Regions from separate parts of the Homo sapiens genome. Here region 1 is linked to region 2. The links are contacts of gene promoters, found by promoter capture Hi-C in human tissues and cell types (Jung and others, 2019). All regions are on one chromosome and are shown on one strand. The core of a region is centred on a gene start or on the middle of the fragment in contact, and the rest is flanking DNA. Distances in the headings are between cores, read along the strand shown. Region 1 has its middle 8.9 kb from the start of NFATC2. Region 2 holds the start of ADNP (activity dependent neuroprotector homeobox).

Evidence for each region. Contacts are between HindIII fragments. The study calls those that stand out against the background at their distance.
Region 1: a fragment that was not itself captured here is called in contact with the fragment with the promoter of ADNP in region 2 in 1 of the 25 tissues and cell types used here (dorsolateral prefrontal cortex).

Annotation. Positions count from the first base shown.
Region 1 is chr20:51,549,635-51,553,569 of GRCh38, forward strand. It overlaps a transcript of NFATC2 not described here. Among named protein-coding and RNA genes, the nearest start is that of NFATC2, 8.9 kb to the left of the region's middle. The HindIII fragment of the contact is 5,436 bases long and covers 1-3,935 here.
Region 2 is chr20:50,929,633-50,933,769 of GRCh38, forward strand. ADNP (activity dependent neuroprotector homeobox) reads right to left here and starts at 1,805. Exons shown (of 6, transcript NM_001282531.3): 1 at 1,194-1,805. ADNP-AS1 (ADNP antisense RNA 1) reads left to right here and starts at 1,352. Exons shown (of 3, transcript NR_110009.1): 1 at 1,352-1,422; 2 at 1,743-1,817. RefSeq lists silencers at 1,024-1,203, 1,344-1,393, 1,544-1,763, 2,063-2,250, 2,114-2,293 and 1 more and enhancers at 634-1,424, 1,844-1,963. The HindIII fragment of the contact is 17,322 bases long and covers 1-4,137 here.

The DNA.
Region 1 (3,935 bases), core at 776-3,275, 620 kb after region 2:
TTTAAGCAAGACACCTTCAGTGCCTCAGTTTCTCTGTCTGTAAAATGGGAAGAGATGAATTAGATAATACCTGAGTTACCATTTCAGCTCTAAAATTCAAGGATTGTTTAACAAGGAAAACCAAGCTAATCTGAGTAGCAGCCGGGGCTCGCTTCATGGGATGTGACATGCAGAGTCACACGGCATTCCGCACCTGGAATAACCTGTGCTTAGAAGGAGCCTGCACTTGGTTGAATGCTCTGCTGTTGACATTTTTTAAATTCTGAATACTTTTTGAACAAGAGGCGATGCATTTTCATTTCGCACAATGCCCTGAAAATTATGTAGCCGGCTCTGATAGTGTACAAGTGCTCCTCAACTTATGGTGGGTGATATCCCAATATACCCATGATACACTGAACATATTGTTGGGTTGAAAATGCATTTAGGCAGGGCATGGTGGCTCACGTCTATAATCCCAGCACTTTGGGAGGCTGAGGCAGGAGGATGGCCTGAGGCCAGGAGTTTGAGACCAGCCTAGGCAACATAGTAAGATCCTGTCTCTATGAAAAATAAAAATACATTAGCCGGGCTCCCATTTGAGCCCAGGAGCTTGAGGCTGCAGTGAGCCATGATCGCACCACTGCATTCCAAAAGAGTAAGACCCCATGTCTAAAAAATAATAATAATAGGCCAAGCACGGTGGCTCATGCAAGCCTGTAATCCCAGGACTTTGGGAAGCCAAGGTGGGTGGATCACCTAAGGTCAGGAGTTCGAGACCAGCCTGGCCAATGTGGTGAAACCCCGTCTCTACTAAAAATACAAAAAATAGCCAGGCATGGTGGTGGGCGCCTGTAATTCCAGCTACTCGGGAGGCTGAGGCAGGAGAATCGCTTGAACCTGGGAGGTGGAGGTTGCAGTGAGCCGAGATTGCGCCATTGTACTCCAGCCTGGGTGACAAGAGCGAAACTCCATCTCAAATAATAATAATAATAATAATAAATACAAAGAAAATGCATTTAATATGCTTAACCCACTGAACACCATAGCTTAGTCTAGCCTACCTTAAACATGCTCAGAACATTTACAGTCACCTACGCAATTGATTTTAGGCAAAATAACCCAACACAAAGACTACTTTATAATGAGGTGTTGAATATCTTCTGTAATTTATTGAATACTATACCAAAAGAGAAAAACAGAATGGTTTATGGGTACCCAAAGTACAGTTTCTACTGAACTCATATCGCTTTCACACCATCGTAAAGAAAGCCTAAGTCAAACATCATAAGTCAGAGACCATCTGTATAACACATAAGTCACACATTTTCATCATGAACTCCATGTCCTAACAACCTCCCATTATAATAAAACACTGCTTATAAAAGGCAGGCATTGAAACGTTTTAAGTTGGATTCAAAAAGTGGGAACATTCTTTACCAGACTCCAAAAACCATCTCCCTTCAACGGAAGCATTCCCTGGGACTCATGATCACTCTAGGTGTTAATATATAACTTATACACAGATGCATTTGACTCCAGCAAGGCTGGCACTAAGGTGAGGCAAGAGAGGTAAAATGAAAGAGGGCACCAAAAACTCAGTAATTAGATAAATTATATCTTCACACCATGTTTTAAAACATCAAAATGAATGCAAAAAAAAATCCTCGCTGAACAAGCTATTATAATTTTAATAAAGACAGGGTCAGTAACAGTCCATGTGAGCCACACTGCACCCTAAGGCCACAGGGAAAATGAGTAATGTTGATCTTGTCTTTATTTAACATTTTTATTTATTTATTTTTTTTGAGACAGGGTCCCACTCAGTCACCCAGGATGGAGTGCAGTGGCGAGAGCATGGCTCACTGCAGCTTCAACCTCCCCAGCTCAGATGATCCGCTCACCTCAGCCTCCTAGTAGCTGGGGCTACAGGCTCCTGCCACCATGCCCTGCTATTTTTTTTTTTTTTTTTTTTCTGGAGAGACAAGGTCTCACTATGTTGCCTAGGTTGGTCTCGAACTCCTGGGCTCAAGCTACCGCATCTGGCCTTTTTAAAAAAAGCTTATCATGGAGTTTTGGCATGATAAGCCAAAATTTTAAAACAAAAATTTTGTTTTAAAAATATTATATTAGGTCGCACACAGTGGCTCATGCCTGTAATCCCAGCACATTGGGAGGCCAAGGTGGGCGGATCATGAGGTCAGGAGATCAAGACCATCCTGGCTAACATGGTGAAACCCAATCTCTACTAAAAATACAAAAAGTTAGCCGGGTGTGGTGGCGGGTGCCTGTAGTCCCAGCTACTCGGGAGGCTGAGGGAGGAGAATGGCATGAACCTGGGAGGTGGAGCTTGCAGTGAGCTGAGATCACGCCACTGCACTCCAGCCTGGGCGACAGAGCGAGGCTCCATCTCAAAAAAAAAAAAATGTGTATTAAAATATGGTTCATCCTGGGCTTACGCCTGTAATCCCAACATTTTGGGAGGCCAAGGTGGGAGGATCGCTTGAGCCCAGGAGTTCAAGACCAGCCTGGGCAACATAGTGACACCCCATCTTTATGAAGCTGAAACAGGAGGATGGCTTGAGCCCAGGAGGCTGACGCTGCAGTGAGCCGTGTTCGTGCCACTGCACTCCAGCCCAGGTGACAGAGCAAGTACCTGTCTCAAATATATATACATTTCATATATGTATGTGTGTCTGTGTGTGTATATATATATACATATAGTTCATCCTGATTACTGAATTTCTTGCATTTTGCTCCCCCAAATGCCTCATTGGCTTCCTCATGCTCTTGCAAAGCCATTTTTAGGGATGAGCTCCTTATAGATTGAGAAAACAAGACAGTTTCAAACCTGACTTGCACTCCAATCTATCATCTCCTACAGAGTCTTTTAAAGCCCGAAGAGGACTTCTCTGTTGTGAGAAAACTATTTTCCAAGAGGGGATTGCAGCAAAAGGCCGTTAGTTGAATATGCCACCCTCCCACTGGGCAGGCACTGATGGCCATCAGTACCTCGTAAGACAGCAGGGTTCTACTAAAAGCCAACACCCAAATCAACGGGTGGACTGTAGGAAGATGCCCCATTTGACAGCAGTAGAAGTCACAGGTCTGCAGGAGCTCCACCAAGTCCATCCTGCAGGCATATTATGTTTGGCCTGCCCAGTAATTTATTTTTAATCTGAACTAATATTTTTATTTTTTTTAATTATATATTAAGTTCTGGGATACATGTGCAGGACGTGCAGGTTTGTTACATCAGTAAACATGTGTCATGGTGGTTTGCTGCACCCATCAACCCATCACCTAGGTACTAAGCCCCACATGCATTAGCTATTTATCCTGATGCTCTCCCTCCCGCACCTTCCTGGCAAGGCCCCAGTGCTTCTTGTTCTCCTCCCTGTGTCCATGTCGAACTAACATTTTTAAATTGGGAGATTTCACATAAAAGTCCAAAATTCCAACTTCTTAAAAAAAAAAGGCAGGCAGATCCCGCCACTCCAGGCCTACATTCCCGTATGGACCAATCGGCTGGAGGTGAGTAGAGGCTGTTCCCTGGGGATGCCCTCCTCCGTTTGCCCCAGCCCCCACCTGTCTTCCTCATTCATTTGTTCCACCTGCCGGGAGCCTGTGAGCTTGAGCGCCTGGGCTGCAGAGTCTTGATTCCTTCCACCTGGTCCCCGCACAACTACTTTGCCCTGGTTTTGTTTCTCCTCTTTGTTCCTTGCTTTCTAGCACGTTCCCCTCTGTCTTGGGTAAAAACGTTTAGAAGGAGGGCAGGCGTGCTGGGCGCGGTGGCTCACGCCTGTAATCCCAGCACTTTGGGAGGCCGAGGTGGGCGGATCACGAGGTCAGGAGATCGAGACCATCCTGGCTAACACGGTGAAACCCCGTCTCTACTAAAAATACAAAAAATTAGCCGGGCATGGTGGCAGGTGCCTGTAGTTCCAGCTACTCGG
Region 2 (4,137 bases), core at 555-3,054:
GTGGGGGCTGGTATTTTCTCCATGGCCATAAACCAGAAGCAACAATGCAGATTTCTAAAGAAACTGTATCAAGCTATCCAAGAGATTTTTTTTTTTTTCATTCTGAAGGTTCAAGATACAGGCACAAGAAGCATCAGGGATGGGAACTGGGTGTGTGGGGATGGACATCATTAACATGACAAACACAGAAACAGTTTGGTTCTTTTTCCCTCCTAAGCCTTTGTCTGTGAAATGGGGTTATGGCAAGAAGTGTCCAGAGTAACTGGTAAATTCAAGAAGATTAAGAAGACTTCGTGTGTGGGGGGTGTGTGTGTGTGGCTAAAAAGGATATCAGACCTAGAGTCTTGGTCTTGGGCAGAAGAGGAAGAGAAGCAATCGCGCCTTTTCCAGCAGACAGGGATCAAGGTTGGGGGGGAGGGGAAGGCAGGCAGGCCTCCCAGAGGAAAGAAGAGGTGAATACGAGTGTGTTCACAAAACTACTCCCCATTCATTACATTAAAAAAAAATCTTTTTGCAGCTCTCTGGATTTCCATTTTCTACCACCTTACTGCAAAGTTGGGGCTCAGAATGTTCGAAAGAGGTGCTGACCAGGCAGCTGAGATTGGGGAAAAGGGATGGTGGTGAACTGTGGTCAGGATAAGAGGAAAGCTGGCAGGTTGGGGAAGAAGGATTGCACAGGGGAGGCAAAGACTCACTCCATGCCATGCATGCTCCCCGCCCCCCCCAACCCCGTCCCCCCTCCCCCAGGTAAGGGTGGGCAGACCTGGCAGAAGGCTGGTTCAAGGCATGGGGGTGTGCGTGGGGGGGCTCCTTTTGGGGGTGGGGGGCGGACGGGATTAGTTCCAGGATGGGAGAAGCTCGGTTCTGGCTGGGGGAGATGCCCTTAGCTGCAAAAGCTCCGGGCGGCCAGGCAGAGTGCTGGCCTCGGTGGGCTCACAGGGCGGAGAAGGGGGTCGGGCTGCAGGAGGAGGCGCCTGGACCTCCGGAGCAGAGTCGGGTAGCGGTCCGTGCCGGGACGGGGGACCCGTCGGCGCCGGGGTGTGCAAAGGAGCGTGTGTGCGGCTGGAGGGCGGCGATGCGAACAACAATGCGCCCGCGCCCGGGGCCAGGCTGCACTGGCGGCCGCGCGGGCCGGGGTCGGGAAGCCAGGCAGGGCAGGGCCGCGGGTCCGCGCGCGGCGGCGCCGGGCTTACCTTGACTCGGCCTCGAGGCGCGCGCGGGGCCGGCGTGCTCGGGGGCCGGACAGCGGCGGCGGCGGCGGGCGGATGGCGGCGGCACGGCGGTGGCGGCAGCGGGGAGGGCGCGCCCGGGGCCTCGTCGCGCTCCGGCTCGGCGGACTCCGGCTCGCGCCGCGGCCGCGGGTGCTGCCGGGGGGCGCGGCGGGCGCAGCAGAGCGGCGGGCGGCGGCGGCGTCGTCGAGCGGTGCAGACAAAGGAGGGGCGGAGGGAGGAGACGGAGGGTGTGGGAGAGGCGGCTTCACCGGCGCGGGCGGCGGCGGCCGCGCTCCTCTCGCTCCTCAGCAGCGGGGACCGAGAGAGGGAGCTGTGTCTGAGAAGACGCCAAAATCCCCCTTAGCGCTGCCTGCGGGAGGGGGAGGGGGCACAAGATGGCGGCGGCCGGGGGGGGGGGGGCGGGAGTTCAGCTCATGGATCCCGGCGGGCGGCGGAGGGGAGACCGGGCCGGCGGAGGCGGCGGCGGCAACGGGCGGGGGAGGGGGCTGATCCCGCGTCTCCCCTCAGCAGACAATACAAGCGCCTCGGACCGAGTCCCCGAACCTGCCCTAGCCAAAATGGCGGCCGAGAAAGAGCGGAAGTGACGTAAGTGCCTCATTAGCATAAGAGGACTCATTGTCCAGCTAAATAGGGGGGGGCAGTGGGGACAGCACCCCTAACCCCCTTTTCCCCAGGGGGGGTTCCTCTTACTCCCACCCCTGCTTGCACCTAACTTTTCCTGAGGGAGGGTGCTCTCAGCACCCCCACCCCCGCTTGAGGGAAATTATATAATCCCCACTGAGGGGGGAGCTCTCGCGAGAACCAGGCGGATTTGCCATTGACCCACTAGGAGGCGCCGCGGATAATGGCCGCAGTGCGCTCCCGGGGCCCGTGTGCTCGGCGGGCGCCTTCCTCTGGCCGCAGCGCCGGCGGCGGAGGCAGAAGCAGCGGGCCGCAGCACGCCCAGCACTCAGTCAGGTGGCCGTGCTGGGGATCCCTGCGCGGGCCCAGCTGGGCCTGGACTACATCTGGCGGGAGGGGTGTGCGGGGCGGCCTGGGGCGGCTCCACGTGCTCAGATGCCCGCGCTTCCACGGCTGAGAAGCGGCGGGAAGGCGCCGGGACACCTGGCCGGTCGCCCCTGACGCCTCCTGCCTTAAATGAGGTGTGAGGGCCTCGTGCTTCACACAGCGACTTGAGATGAGACACAACCCCATGGATGCCTTAGCCCTTCCTGGTGGGGTATTCGGTGCAGAGGGGCCGAGATTTTATTAAGGTCCGCCGTTACCCTGTGACTTGACATTCTTCCCAGTCACAGTGATGGACTCTTCTCTGACCTGAATAAAAAAAAAAATGGGAATCCTAGTGCCTTGAGGCCACCCAACTGGTGAAACTTAAGGATGAGAAGTGATGTTGCCAATAGGGGCATTGGCTCTCTGCAAGATCCTTAAACAACACACTTTGTAGTCCTAGGGACATAGCTTTTGGTGCTCCCACAATCTGGGTAGCATAAGACAGCACATGGTTGCTTTGTAAATTTAGGTCAATCCCAACCAATACATTATCTCCTCAACATTTTTGAACCAACCTTTTAAAGTAGGTTGTTCAAAGTAACATTATGATTTAAAGTATCATTGGTTGGTTAAATGTATTGACAAGTAATAGATGTCAATAGTGAGGAATTAACCAAGCCTGTTTCCTTAATATGTGATCTTTAGGTAAATACACCTGTCTTTTGCTGTTTCTTTACATTTCAAGTTAACATAGTTTCAAGCCATACTTAACATCCGAAAATAATCTGAGTTCGCTGCAAGTAGTATAAATTGTGGTTACACATAGCTGTTCAACATCTAAGACTTCAGTTAGCCCTGTTTAACAAACTTTTATACAACACATTTCTGCAATTGTGATAAAATGTATCTTTAAAAGCCAAGTCAGTATTTCAAGGGAAAACAGCTGAAAAAAGTCGTGGAAAAAGGGGTTGGGGCAAAGCATTTGATTCAGAAAACTAAAGAATCTAATTACACACTGCAGAAGACAGATAAAAACTAATATGAAATAAGCAAAGTAAGTTTAAGTTTAGTTTTTCTTAGATATACTTAGATTCCATATAGTGATAATACAAATACAAGGGAAAACATCTGGATTTCATCTTTGGCCTCATTTACAAAGCAAAATGGGATGCTGGATTCAGATGTAAATATTTAATTTTACAGTGTTTAAGCACCAGATTTACTACAAAAATGCATCTAAATATTCCAGATTCTTTTCTAAATGACTTCCAAATGCTATGAGTCTTCACTGCTCAAATACTCTATGGTAAATTCCAAGAGTGACAGTGTTGTGATAATGATTGTGTGAATAACTAAAAAGATTTAAAAGGCAAACATTATCTACTCTAGTGAGTATCTGAGAAGGCAGTACTATCTATATTAGGTTCTCTAAGGTTGTTACTTAATTTCTGCTCCACATACTTGACACTGAGAACTCAACTTTGAGTTTAGGTTAAGAAAAAATAAATTCTAACCACTCCAAAAAAACTGAGAATATTACATTTCTATTATCTTAGCTTAAAACTAATTTCACATCAAGCACTGATGAATTTTCTTCTTGTTATGAATGAGAGAAGTTTCTTCCCTAAGGAAAGCAGTTCCCTCACTGGCCAGCTGGACAGTTCTGGACATAAGGGAAACAGAACAAGAGTGGCCCTTATTGGAATGTGTACTATGGGTTCAACTATAGAAGCGTGGGAGGGGGTGGTTTTAATGTTCGAAATGACACCACAGGTTTTATAGTCTGGGATTCATTTCTGGTAGAATCTGTCAGAGAGAAATGCAAATGAAAAATCAGATTTTCATTTTTTTTTCTTTTAAAAAAGACAGGGTCTCACTCTGTTGTCCAGGCATGATCACAGCTCACTGCAGCCTT